2 separate regions of the Homo sapiens genome follow, and region 1 is linked to region 2. The links are contacts of gene promoters, found by promoter capture Hi-C in human tissues and cell types (Jung and others, 2019). All regions are on one chromosome and are shown on one strand. The core of a region is centred on a gene start or on the middle of the fragment in contact, and the rest is flanking DNA. Distances in the headings are between cores, read along the strand shown.

Region 1 (7,681 bases), core at 1,720-4,219, 1.3 Mb after region 2:
TTTAATAAGGTTGCAGGATAGAGGATCAATATACAAAAACCAATTGTTTTATATTTTCACTAGCAATGACAATCAGAAATTAAAATTTAAATCTAGTATCATTTAAAATAGCATCAAAAATATGAAATACTTAGAGATACATTTAACAAATGATATGAATGAACTGTACACTAAAAACCATAAAACATTGCTCAGAAAAAAATTTTAAAGAGCTCAAAAAATGGAAGATACGTTGCATTCATGGATCAGAAAATATAATACCACTAAGATGTCAATTTGCCCTCAAATTGATATAAAGATCAAAAGACCCCCTCCCTGTACCCTAGATTCCTCTCTACCTCCTGGCATCTCCACTTGAATATCTAATACCACTAATATGTCACTTTGCCCCCAAAATGCAAAAAAAAAAAAAAAATGAAACTTCTAGAAGAAAATATAGAGAGAACTATTTGTGAGAAGCTTACTGAGGCGATTCATTCAATGAAATGCCACTCAGCAGTAAAAAGAAATGATCAGTCCCCATATAAGCCCCCAAAGCAGGGAGTAGGGGGGTTTGTAGAAACTGACAAAGTTATTCTGAAAGACAAATGTCCCTAAATAAGAAAAGCTACACATGGCCCAGACACATAAGAGCAACTGAGATTTGACAAAGGTGCAAAGGTAATCCAACGTGGGAAAGATAGTCTATTCCAGTCTATCAAATGGAAACAATTTGATATCCATATGAATCAAAATGAATTAAATTCATATTTTGCAGCACCTACCAAAATTCACTCAAAACAAAACAATGAATCTTCTATAAGCATATATAGGAGGAACTATTTGTGATAAGCTAATGTGGTGATTCATTCAGTGGAATGCTACTCAGCAGTAAAGAGGAATGAACCATCGATACAAGCAACATGGAAAAAAGTCATAATCATTATGCTGACTGAAAGCAGCCAGACAAAAAAAAGGGTTTTTGTTAGATGCTATTTATATAAAATTCGAGCAGACTAAGCTATACTGATGGAAAGCAGATATTTTGTGGAGAGGCTCCCCATGTGCAGAGACGCAATGGGGAGGGCAGAATGGAGGACTAGAAGGGACAGGAGGCAATGTGTGGGGTGACGGATAGGGCCACTATAGTGATTGTGGTGGTGATTTCATAGATGTAGACATATGTCGGAACTTAGATCGTGCACTTTAAACATGTGCAATTTATTCTGTGTTGTTTATACCTAAACAAAGCTGTAAACATTCATAAAGAAGGAAGACAGGAAGGAAGGAGGGAAAGAAGGAAGGAAGGAAGGGAGGGAGGGAGGGAGGGAGGAAGGGAGGGAGGGAGGGGAGACGGAGAGGCAGGGAGGAAGGAAAGGGAGGGACAGAGGAATTTACACCCTTGTGGAAGGAAGGAAGGAGGTAGAAAGGGAGGAAGGGAAGGAGAAAAGGATTCACTCCCTTTTGTCACGTGTTCAGACTCTCAGAAAATATCACTGAGCGTTTTCTCTACAGAAGCTTTCTCCACCTGTCCTTTGGGACACCGTGTGCCTGTAGTTTTCCTCATACTTTCCTGGATGGTCTTTCTCCTTCCCCCAACATTGCCCCAACCTCTCAACTGGCAGCGCCCTAAAACTCAGTCTTCTTTTCTCTAACTCGCCTCCTTTGGTGAGCTCACTGGATTTCATAGCTCTGAATCTCATCTCTACACTGACCACCCTCAAATGTCTCCCTGTAGCTCAGACCTCCTCCCTGAACCCTAGAGTCCTCTCTACCTCTTGGCATCGTTGCTTAAATATCTAGTAGAGATCTCAAACTTGGCATTTTCAAAATTCCCACAAACTATGCTTCCCACTGTCTCCCCATCTTAGTAATTCCCACTGCTCGAGTTAAAAATAGCACACACACAACAAAACCAAAAAAACACAGAATTACCCTTGGCCCCTCTCTTTTTCTCGTTCCCCACTTTCAAATCCTTTGACAAATTTGTCAAGCACATCTTCAAAATTTACCCAAAATCCAACCACTTCTCACCACCTATATAGCTACAGACCCAGCTCAAGCCGGAGTGATTTAGTGTCTGGTCCGATCCCCGCCGCCTTCACCCCTGCCCGTCACTGGCCCTCAATAGAGCAGCTAGAATCTCTCTCACACACCAACTCTTCCAGCTTTTTTTTTTTCCTCTTTTTACAACATTGGCCAGAACCTCAAACACTGTGCCAAACGGAAACAGTTAGAATGGATGTCTTAGTCCATTTGGGCTGCTATAAAAAATACCCTAAATTGGGTGGCTTATAAACAACAGAAATTTATTGTTCACAGTTCTGGAGGCTGGGAATTCCAACATCAAGACACTAAAATATTTGGTGTCTAGTGAGGGCATGCTTTCTGCACACAGTCTCACTGTGTCCTCATACAGTAGAAGGGATGAGGGGGTCTCAGGCCCTAACCCCATTCCTGAGGATTCTGCCCCCATGACCTAATCATCTTCCAAAGGCCGCACCTTTTAATACCATTATCTTGAAATTTTCAATATATGAATTTGGGGAGGCCTCAGACATTCAGACCATAGCATTGGACATCCTTATTTTGTTTGTAATTTCAAAGGAAATGGGTCTTATGTTTCTCCATTAAATATTAGGTTTGTGGTAGGTTTTTTTGAATATAACTTTTGCCAAGTTAGGGAAATTTCCTCCTGTTCCTAGTTTTCTATGCTTTTTTAATCATAAAAGTTGTTGAATTTCATAAAGTACTATTTCTGTATTAATTTTAATTGCCATGTAATTTTTCTTCAGTAGTCTTTTAATATGGCAATATTTTTAACAAAAGATTTTATGACAATTTTTCCAATGATGAGTCACTCTTGTATTCCTAGGTGGCATCCTACTTAATTATAATATATTCTTAACAAAAGATTTGATTCACTTAGCCAAGATTTAGTTTTTCCTTCAATGTTGATATACTAATCAATTGAAGTCTTCTTCTCTTTGTATTTATTGTTCTTATCTGATACTTGAGTTATGAATTACATTAGACTCATAAAATGAGCTACACAACTTTCTCTTCCCATCTTACGGAACCACTTATAAAGATTAGCAATTAACTGTTCCTGAAAATTTAGTAAGATTCATCTATAACCCATCCGGGCTTGGGGATTTGAGGAGGGGAAATCTTTGAATACCACCTTACTTTTCTTAGTAGTTATTAGTTTGTATAACTTTTCTAATATCTTCATCATTAAGCTTTGCCTCTTAGTCTTCCAAAACTGTTTCTATTGAATTCAGTTTTTCAAGTTCATTAAAATATAATTGAATGCACTGTGAGTGTTCAAGTAACAGGAAAATGCTGATCCTTTTAGCTATGTTCACACATTAATCTGGGCTTACTTGAATAGGCCACTCTTCCTCTCAGTTGAAACAGAAAATCGTGTTGTTTGATAACATTGTTTCCCTACATCATTCATGTCCCTAGAATTATGTAGGACAAATAACATTTCCAATAGATTGTGTACCCCACATCCCCCCTTAAAAGTCTATATTGTTTTAATAGAAATTCCCAGAGCCCATGGCTTGCCTGGCTTCTTTCTATGATGAAATGTGGGTGCATCCTTGACAGCCTTCATCATAGCCTTAGTACTGCTCATCACCAAGGGCTGCTGCTATGGCTCCCACATTCTTGGGATGCATCCCTCCCCAGTCAGTGCCTACTGCATTGCTCAAATAATAATGTTGCTATATTGATTACAATTAAACATGTTATCTCTACTGTGTTACAGTAAATCACAGATTCACCAGAGAGAACAGTTACCTAGGACTCCCAGTTAACAGTAATATCTTTCTGGCATACCTCCAGTTTGGGGAATGGCAAGCTGAAACCATAATAACTATTATTCACCGAGCGCCTACAATAAGCCTGACATAAATTGGCACCTGAGATGTGCTACCTAGAAGCTTTATTAAAACCACAGAAGGAAAGCCTTAGTACCTTTGGTTCATTTCTTTTTCTTTTAAAGACAGGGTCTCATTCTGTTGCCCAGGCTGGAGTGCAGTGGTGCAATCATAGCTCCCTGCAGCCTCAACCTCCTGGGCTAAAGCGATCCTCCCACCTCAGCCTCCTGGGTAGCTGGGACCACAGGTGTATGCCACCATGCCCAACATTTTTTTGTATTTTTTGTAGAGATAGGGGTTTCACCATCTTGCCCAGGCTGGTCTTGAACTCCTGGCCTCAAGCCATCTTTCCACCTCAACCTCCCAAAGCATTGGGGTTGCAGGCATGAGCTACCACTCCCGGCTTGCTTCATTGATGAAGAAAATATTGATCACATGGGTTAAGTGACTTGCCTGAGGCCACTTAGAGAGTAAGTTAGAGCAGGGATTCAAATTCGGATCCATCCATTTTTTAACTTCCCACTGAAATCTAGATATTTTTCAATAAAGAATTTTCTAAAGAATAGCCTAAAATCAAATGGTTTCTGCCAAATCAGGTATACCTACAAATTTTTCGGCCCCCAGTTACCATCTTAAGTCCTGGACAGCTATTAAGTGGCATGCCTATGCTGGCTCCTGCCTATTGAAAGCAGTTGTCTGGAGTCTTGCACTGAGAAGGATTGTGCAGCTGAGCTTGGGCTAAATGAGAAATTGCTGAGATTGGATTCTAATGCTGTTTGTATTTATCAGAGTTCTCCAGAAAAACAGAGCCATACGGTATATGTATACATACATATATATATATATATATATATATATATATATATATATATATATATATGAGAAGAGATTAGGAATTGGCTCACACAATCATGGGGGCTGGCAATTTTCAAAGTAAGCTGGCAGGCTGGAAAAGCTGGCAGGAGTTGATGTTGCAGTCTTGAGTTCCAGGACAGTCTGGAGGCAGAATTCCTTCCTCCCCATGGGACCTCGGTCATTTCTCTTAATGCCTTCAGCTGATTAGATGAGGCCTACCCAAATGATGAAGGGTAATCTGCTTCTCTCAAAGTCTACTGATTTAAATGTTTAAAAAATACCTTCACAGCAACTTCTAGACTAGTGTTTGACCAATCAACTGGGCAGCATATCCTAGCCACATTGACACATAAAATTTACCATCACACTATCAAGATCAGGAAGACAATATTCCGTAACAGTGGGTCTCAGACTTCAGCATGAATAGGAAGCCCCTGACGGGCTTGTTAAAGCATGGATTGCTGGGTCCCAGCCCCAGAGCTTCTGATCCAGTAGAGCAGGGCTGTCCCTGTGAGAGTTTCCTGAGATGCCGATGGTGCTGGCCCAAGGCCACACTTTGAAAACGCCCCTGAATGGCGTCATTGCTACATTGCTGAAGTGATTACGCTGAAGCATCATGAACAATCATCATACAATATGTTTCTAATCTACAGTTTCTATATAATAAAAACAATTTGAAAATTTTCTGAATGTCTAAGTTTTCAACAAGAAAAACTTTACTTTTAACCCAGGAAAATATCCACCCAGTCCTTAGCTTCTCATAAGATTATAATAAAAAATTGTCTCAGAATATTATAATAAAAAGTTGTAATCACATACCTTCAATCAATATTCCAAAGTAACAGAGACATGTCACTCACAGAATTAGGAGTTGGGCCACTTGGGTTGGACAAGGTCAGGTCACAATTCTCAATTTGTACAGCTGATCAGAGCCAGATCTCCTGATTCCTGGTGCGTCTCTCCCTCAGGCCTCGGTTTCCACGTCCATAAAATGGGATAGTTTGCTTGTGCTCCCTCCAGACCTGATAATTCTTCTACCCAGGGTTCACATATCTTGACTCAGTTTGAAGCAGAACATTCAGACAGGTAGTACTGTCAGAGAGGAAATGGTCTGCCCTGTAAGGCAGGACTGTGGGTGCGAGAATCTGCGCTGGAGGGCACCAGGTGGAAATTTCATAGGGAAGATTCAGATTGCAGATTGGACACTTCATTCCTCTCACACTGTGAACTTCTACAGGTCCCTGAATTACAGACCCCATTCCTGGGACAAAGCTTAAAAGAAAGAAACAAACTTTAAAGAAATATAGGAAGGTGCCTTTGTTACTATAATGATTATGGATATCTGTTGTAAAAATAATACTTATTGAGCCCATACATCTCACTTGCAGAAATCCAAAGCTATGTTATTAAAGCTGTTTCAGGGTTTCAGAAGATAAATAAATTGAAGGTCTCTAAACCTTCAGCAAAACTGTTCCAACTTGGATTAATCTGGAACTGAATGTCACATTGAATCCTGCCAAGGCTTGGCAGGGCCCCAGGTAGGAATGATTTACATTCCATCCAGAAAAGCGGCTTTGGGTCCTGGAGGAACCAGTGGTTTCAATGCAGCCCTGACCAGGATAGCTGGATGGGAGTGTTCCCCTGGGTGGGCTCAGGTGGCACAAGGGAGATGAGGGTCACCCAGTTAGAGTGCCAAAGCACTGCTCATCTCTCAGTCACTATGACTGGTAGAAATGCCACCAGTTTGTGCAATGAAACAAGTCTACATTTATTCCCTGTGAAGCTGTGATTCCTGGTGTAGCACGCACAATCCAAAGGTCAGAGTTGAGACTCAGTTCTTGCTCTGGGAGTTTGTGGACATGACCTTCAACTCGAAGCCAGAAGAACTGAGTTTAAGACCAGACTGTGCCCCCTTAAGAGCTCTGTGATCTGGGCAAGTCAAATCGCCCCTCTGACTCTTCAGTTCCTCATCAGTAAGTGAGGCTAAATTCCCATGCCTGGTGGACTCCACAGGGGACCCCTCACCAAGAGTTATTAAGGTGCAGCTTCCCCCACTGTTAATACCTACAGTTCATGCAAATCAAAGAAGACTTTAGACCCAACTTGAGTGGCTTTTATAGAGTATGTCACAAAGGCAACAATATGGCATAAAGTACTCAGCACCTTTCCCCACCTGTCAGTGGAAGCCTGGTCCTGAATTGTTTGTGGTGTTGAAGGATGCCAAGGAGGCTCACCCTGTGCTAAGGTGTCACTTCAGGGCACCAGGAGAGCTATAAGAAGAGGTAGATGGGAAGTGGTCATGAAAGAGGGCCTGCCAGAGCTTTTAGGGGAGGCCAGAAGAGGGACTGTGGCCCATGAAAGGGTGAGGAGAAGGCCATGCTGACAAGGACAGTGGCGCACATGTGTGAGGATTTTTGGAAATCTTCTGCTGTGTGTCGCACCCCTGATATGCCAGCCCTCCAAAGACTTAATTAAAGTCTTATGTTATCTTTTTTTTTTCTTTTTTTTTTTGAGACAGAGTCTCACTCTGTCACCCAGGCTGGAATGCAGTGGTGCGATCTCGGCTCACTGCAAGTTCCGCCTCCCAAGTTCACGCCATTCTCCTGCCTCAGCCTCCTGAGTAGCTGGGACTACAGGTTCCTGCCACCATGCCCGGCTAATTTTTTTTTTTTTTTTTTTGTATTTTTAGTAGAGACAGAGTTTCATCATGTTAGCCAGGATGGTCTCGATCTCCTGACCTCGTTATCCTCCTGCCTCTGCCTCCCAAAGTGCTGGGATTACAGGCGTGAGCCACTGCGCTCGGCCAATCTTATGTTATCTTAAAACACTTTTGGAGTAGAAATTACATTTCTCTTCATGCATCACAGTGCTAAGACTAGAGCTTAAGGCTGAGGCTGACAGGCCTAGATAACTTTGGGTTGCATATACTTAAATTAAGAGTCAGCACATTTTAGGATGAA
Region 2 (7,194 bases), core at 4,607-7,106:
CAGGCCCTAGCTGGGCACGATGGCTCACGGCTGTAATCCCAGCATTTGGGGAGGCCGAGGTGGGCGGATCACTTGAGGTCAGGAGTTCGAGACCAGCCTGGCCAACATGGTGAAACCTCGTCTCTACTGAAAATACAAAAATTAGCCAGGCGTGGTGATGTGTGCCTGTAGTCCCAGCTACTCAGGAGGCTGAGGTGGAAGGATCTCTTGAACCCGGGAGGCGGAGGTTGCAGTGAGTTGAACAAACAAACAAAAAACAAAACAAAACACTTAACAGGCCCCAACAGAACTCCTGCTCCAGCAATATCCATCAGCATCTGCTCTTCCCCAGTCATCCCCATTTTAGTAAACAGCCACACGAACCACTCAATTGCTCAAACCAAAATCCCCGATGTCATTTCATTCTCATCCTCACATCTCACCTATCACCCACCTCCTTTACCGCTAAAGCATATCGGCATCCACCCAGCTCCCCTGCCCTGCACTGTCACCTCTCTAGGCCTAGGCAGCACTTGCTCTCACCCACATCAACCTCCTGGTTGGTCTGACTCTACTCCTGCTCCCCCAAACATGAGTTTTCCACATGACAGCCAAGGTGATCTTTTAAAACAAAAACAAGGCCAAGCATGAAACCCTCCAAAGGCTTTTCAGTGGCCATCCAGTAAAATCCAGACTCTTCATCCTGGCCCATGAGGCTCTCCTGTCACCTCCCCAACCTAGGCCTCTCTTATGATCATATTCAGCACCAGTGACCCAGCAGGCCCTTGAACTGCATCAAACTCATTGTAGCTTCTGCACTAGCTGCCCTCTCCATTCCTCATGATTCAGCTCTCAGTCCAACTGTTGCCTCTTCAGAAAGCATGTCACTGACCATCTAATCCACTGGAGCATCCTGTATATATCATTTTCCTGGTTTAATTTAATTAATTTCTTCTTATAACTTATGCCTTACCTTATTTTCTTATTCACTTGCTTTCTTATTTACTGTCTTTCCCTGCTGAGATTTAAATTCCCCAAGAATAGAGAGGCTGCCTCATTTGTTCATGACTGCATCCCCAAGACCTCAAGCAGGGCCTGGCACATAAAGGGAGTCCAAATATTTACTCAGTCAATGTCAGCAAATCTGGTTCCCTTCAGGGCTCTGTCTGATGAAGCAATGCTTCTTAAACTACCTGTGGTGAAGAACCAGTTTTTTTTTGTTTTTGAAACTCTCAATTTCAGTACTTATATCTGCACAGTGCATGGGCTGGCACCACTCTCTAAGGCACAATTTCAAAAGTAAAGTGATAGAATATATAAAAAGTCATAAAGGCTGTCTCATAAATTTGATCAGCTAAGCCAGCTTTGGCCTGAGGCTAAAGAGGCACCACTCCCTCCTTCCTTGGGCCTGCCCTGCAGGAGTGACATGACTTACCCAACTTGTCACCAGTGGGGAAGGATGAGGGTAAAGATGAAGGTAAGGATGGGTGCTGTCTCCCAAGCTTTCTGTTCAAGGTCACTGGTCTCCATTCTGAGGAAGAGGGCTGGAAAAGGAGGCTCAAGCCCCGGAGTAAAGGTGGGACAAACAAACAGAAGCAAAGGTTGCTGCCTTCAAGCTCCATCACCACATCCTTTAGCAAGGCATGACCCATGGCATATTAAAAGCAAGTGGACTGGCTGCTCTTCCCAACCAGACCTTCTCTTCAGACCACAGAGAAAAAAAAATTTCTTTCTGTTTAAGGCTAATCTCTTCCTGTGCATTCTAGATCAAATCCCTTCTTCTATCTTCAGAGATGCAAGCCCACCAATTATCTTTTCTCTCCCTTATTTTTTTATCCGTCTTCCATTCAGTTGTCTGGATTGTCTAATCCTCCTTCTCTACCTCAACAATATTCAAACCATTTCAGATCCTGTCAATTCTGCCTCCTAAATTTCCCTCCAATGTGTTACCTCTTTTCCATTTCCACTGCCAGTCTTAGTAAGACCCTTATTTTTTTTCTTACCTAGGCTACAATAACTCCTTACCAATTCTTTGTAGTACAATTTTTGTCATCTTCCAGTCCCTAGGTTAGACAACCAGAGTTATTAATTTTTTAAGGTCCTCAAGATAAAATGGCAGGCGGGACTCCATTCTGAGAAGGGAAAGGATATGTTGGTGGACTACTAACTTTGTGGTAGGTAAAAAAAATGACAGGAGTAGACCAAATGAAAAGAATCATTGTGACAAGGGAAAGGAGAAAAGGAAAGGAAATTAGTGCTCCTGTTAAAGCAAGACAAAGGTGGGACTGAAACACTGAATAATCAACAGTCTTCCCAGGTATCAGTGGCACTAAGGAGTCACTCCAAGGCTGTGCTCCTGCTTACAGTTGGGAGAGCAGACTTGATATTCTAAAGGCCAACCAAAGAGGAAGGTCACAAGTTCAATTGTTTCCTGTTTCTATCAGACAAATGTCGACCTCCTCAGAACTACATACATGCCATCATGTGGCCTTCCACTTCTTTCTAGAGCCCATCTCTGCTGTATCTAACAATTTACTTTGAAGTGGAAAAGCAGGAAGAGGCACACTAGATTACCTGGAGTCATTCAACACATTACACTTGAGTCTAGCACAGTCCTTTCTATAGTAAGCCCTAACTTATTGAGTTCTCCCATCCATTTTGGAGCTTTCAGTCTCAGGACAATAGCCTCTTTCTGAAGCATGAGGATGAGTTAGAATTCTCCTCCTCTGAGATCTCATAGCATCTTTCACATCCCTCTACTATAGCTATTAAGTCTCTCCCAAGTTGGCTGGAAGATTCTGAAGGATAGGGGCTACACTCAACTCATCTTTGTTGTTTGAAACAGAGTCTCACTCTGTTGCCCAGGCTGGAGTGCAGTGGCATGATCTCAGCTCACTACAACCTCCACCTCCCGGGTTCAAGAGATTCTCCTGCCTCAGCCTCCCGAGTAGCTGGGATTACAACAGGCATCAACATGACCAGCTAATTTTTGTATTTTTAGTAGAGATGAGGTTTCACTATGTTGGCCAGGCTGGTCTCAACTCCTGACCTCAGGTGATCCTCCCCACTCAGTCTCCCAAAGTACTGGGATTACAGGTGTGAGCCACCATGTCTGGCCTCAACTCATCTTTAAATCCCCAGCAACTACCACAATTGACTTGGAATCTGAAAGATAAATATAAATTCACATTCAATTTAAATGAATAATAATACAACTAAAAGAAAACATAAAGATGGTCAAGCCCAAGACCCTCAGTTTACAGAGAAAAAAACCACAGTTCATAAGGGCGAAGTGACTTACCCAATGTCACAGAGGAAAAGCAGGGTTAACTAAGACTCCCGCCTTTCAGCAGACCTAAGGACAATGTGTGGTACATAGAAAACACACAATGCTTGGAATGAAGTCCTTCCTTTAAATTAAAAAAGTTGTTGTGTAACACACACCAGAATCTCAAAATTTACTAAACTGGCAATCCCCAGTTGCAGCGGCAGTGAATACTTAATCATTAGGGAGCAGGCAGAAGCGAAGGAAGGAAAATGTATTGATTCTACTAAGGTTAATCTCCCTTGAAGTCCTCAATTACTTTTCAGGGCACAGAGAAGCCATGCTCTCAGTACCTCAAGTCAGCTTACTGTCCTCTAAACAGATTTTTTCTAAGAGCTCATGTGTGTGAGGGCTGTATTTGCCAAGCAAAAAGATGGCCTTTGCTGGTAGTGTTAAAAAACATTTTTTTTCCCTTAAAACGCAGTCTGATATTTTATTCAAACAACTTCTGATGTGATGACCTGTTTAGTTAATGGAGAAAGAACAGCCTGAAGGAAGAAAACACGGGGTTTATTTCTGGCCTTCTGCTCTCTGAAACAAAGGACAAGGCACTTTCCTTCGGCTCTCTCAGAGTTAGCCGAGTTAGAGCTCTCCACCATAAAACGCCAGGACAGGGCAAAGAGGGGGCCGACCATCTCAAACACCATGGGATTCTAAGTGGGGGCTGACCATCTCAAATACCCTGGGAGTCTAAGGGTTAATTTTGAGGTAACCTCCTACAGATGGTTTTATGGGGACAACTGAAAACTCTCTTTAAAAAAGTACGACTTGGTAATTTAAAATTTACTGGAACAGTTAAATATGTAGACATGCTAGTGAAAGAGAACAAATCAACCTGAGTATAAAGGATGAATAACTCATTTTACCTACCCTAGAGACACTTATAGTGTATAGAGAGATATTTCACAATAAACCTTTGGATGTACAAAGATCAACAGAATAAAAAAGGAGTGAAACTCTCCTTTCACTAGGTCTGGAAGAGAGAAGGAAGCTTAGTTCTTAAAAAACACCACAGAGAGTTCTGATGCATAGCCTAGTTGAAAAGCATTTCTAGAGTGATTTTGTAACCACTGTGCTGCCATTTAACGAATTTCCTCGTTTTTGACTCATAGTTAATAAATTATCACTATTAATATGCATTTTTTTGTGTACAGGTAATATAATATGTTCATCAAGATGGTAAGCTCCTTGAAGAAAAGCACCGTGGTTTATCATTCTATCTGTTTTGCTGAGACCACTTAGCACTGGGATGAGTATGGAATAGCTTGGAATGACTTTCAATGTGAGTGAAATGTCTGGCAGGAAAAGGCAGGCTTTGAGAGGCTCCCCAGGAGGGCACAGCCCACTGCTCTGAGGAGTGGAATAAATTCTTGGAGGCAGGATGGGCCAGTGAAAACTCTCTGTGCAGACCCTGGTGACATCATCTGCTAGCTACATGTCCTTAGTATCTTAATGTCCCTACATCCATAGCTATAAAATACCGTACTGGGGGCCTGACAATAAAGAAAACAACACATGGCACAGGGACATTTCAGGGAGATGGCATTTTAGGAGAAATGGAACGCCAACTCACCCGGACCCTGGTCATTTCTTACTCCCAGAGGGGATGGATTCCTGGAAAGGCAGAGTTAGGGAAAGAGAAAAAGCCATGAAAATCAAGTCCAGCAAGACTGCGGGGAAAAAGTTACTCCGCTCCTGCCTCTGACGCTTCTTCAGTCACTTCCACCCACACTCCCTCCATCAGGTGAGAGGTGAAGCATTTTCTGTCACCACCTTCATCTCTCTCCACAGGGCTTTCGATTAAACAAGCCAAGTTTTCCCCCCAAAACCAAGAGGCTAGGTAAATTCCGCAGCCGCCGGCAGCTCGAAGCCGTGCCCATTTCCTCTGACTTTCCCGATCTCTGTCCTAAAGTTCTAGTTAAGAGGAGAAGCTTCTCGGGATGGATTTCGGTTGCCCAAGACGCCTTCCCCGACCTCATTCTCAGGAGCCTGGCTCGTTCCTGCGGTGCGGGGGCTCAGATGCAAGCTCTTTTCAGCGAAGGCAGTGCTGCGGACAGAAACCTCAGTCTCTTACAGGAGCCCCCGTCCGTCGCCTAACGTCCACCGAAAACCCCCCTGCAATAACGCCCGTCACAGGCGAGGAAAAGGCCGGCGTGGCCAACCACGAAGCCCCCAGCCGGCCCAGGCCAGAGCTCGGCCAGGAGGGAGGAGGGGCCATCGGAGGCGCGGCCGCTCAGCTGCAGGGCCCCACAGGCTTCGGTGTGGCCGCAGCCCGGCCCCGGGGGCGCAGCAGCTCGGAAATGCGGCGCCGGGACACACGTGCCGCCGCGGGCCGCGCCTCCGCTGGTCGCGTGCCCTACCATCGCCGCCCTCCCGGCTTCCGCAGCTCGGCGGCCCAGCGCCTTACCCGCGGCACACCCATTTCCTGACCCCTGAACGCCTCTGCCAGCGGCTGGGGAAGCCCGGCCAGTCTCACCTCCCACGTGGAACCCCACGCCTGCAGGGGCCAGATTCCGGATGCTGACCGCTCGCGCGCCTAGGGCCCCGAAATACAAGTCCCAGCAAGCCGCGGGCGAACCACGCCCACTTCCGGCGCGGGCCCCTGAACTCTGCGCTGTGCGGAGCGGGATTCTTGGGCGGAGGGGACCATCTTTGAGTCAGCGACGCGTGTATTCAAGTCCTCCTCCTCGTTTTTTATTACAAACAAATAAGAATTATTTTAGGAATACCTGTTAAGGTGATTTTCATTTGTTAAAATACTATTGGGGGAAAAGGATGTAAATACCCATAATTTCATCTTTACCTTTCAAAACATTCTGAAGTGAATATTTGCCATTCGGCATCTTCCATCTCACCTCTGAAGTTCATCCATTTAACAGATATTAATTGAGAGCCAACTGTGTACCAGGAGCTGTTCAAGATGCTTGCACAAAAGTCACTGCCCTATTCTAGTTGGGGAAACAAGCAATCCATAAATATAGTAAATATATGGCGTCGTGTGTGTCATGAGGTGGTACTGAAAGCATAGAGCTGGGCGGGGTGTGGCGAGGTGCGTTTGTGGGTGTGTAGGACTGGAGGTGTACTTTGCAATTTTAAATAGGGGATCTTGGAACAAACACAGGAGGTGAGGGAATTAGACAAGTGGCTCCCAGCAGTCAGAACTCTCCTAAACGCACACAAGGGTTGTTGATACCAGGATTTTACGTTTATTTCACTTCTCACCGAGTGACACAGAGCTACCCATTTGGTCTTTTCCCAATTCCTTTCTTTCAGATTTATTTTGGAGAGGAAAGAGATGTTGCCTGGACCTCTCTTCTACATCCTCCCCCTTCCTTGGTGTATTAGTTTCCAATTGCTGTCACAACAAATTAACACAAACTTAGTAGTATAACAAACATGTATTCTCTTAAACTTCTGGAGGTGCCAAGTCTGAAATCAAGTTTTACTGGGCTTTATAAAGTCAGTGTTGGTGGGGCTAGTTCCTCCTGGAGGTTCTAGATGAGAATATTTCTTTGCCTTTTCCAGTTCCCAGTGACTATTTGCATTCCTTGGCTTATGGCTCGCTCCTTTATCTTCAAAGTGCATGACTGCAACCTCTGCCTTCATCATCACATCACATGCTCAGGCACTGGCTCCTCGTGGGTCCTTCTAATAACGACTGTTGTGATTACATCAGGCCCAGCTGGCTAATCTGGGATAATCTCTTGACGTCAAGATCCTTAATTTAATCACATTTCAAAAAAAATCCCTCTTGCCATAGAAATTAACATCCACAGCTTCTGGGGGTTAGGACATGGACATATTTGGGGGACTATTATTTTCAGCCTGCGATGCTTGGAGAGGCCCACGTCCCCTTCGGTCTCCTCCTCAGAGATGCTGTCTTACCTTTT

What was found. Contacts are between HindIII fragments. The study calls those that stand out against the background at their distance.
Region 1: a contact is called between a fragment that was not itself captured here and the fragment with the promoter of ZNF239 in region 2, in 1 of the 25 tissues and cell types used here (dorsolateral prefrontal cortex).

Annotation. Positions count from the first base shown.
Region 1 is chr10:44,868,095-44,875,775 of GRCh38, forward strand. All of the region lies in intron 2 of TMEM72-AS1 (TMEM72 antisense RNA 1), which reads right to left. Among named protein-coding and RNA genes, the nearest start is that of TMEM72, 39 kb to the right of the region's middle. The HindIII fragment of the contact is 3,983 bases long and covers 979-4,961 here.
Region 2 is chr10:43,568,760-43,575,953 of GRCh38, forward strand. It overlaps ZNF239 (zinc finger protein 239), which reads right to left and starts at 5,857. Exons shown (of 4, transcript NM_001099282.2): 1 at 5,781-5,857; 2 at 4,878-4,918. RefSeq lists a silencer at 5,580-5,639. The HindIII fragment of the contact is 7,605 bases long and covers 4,766-7,194 here.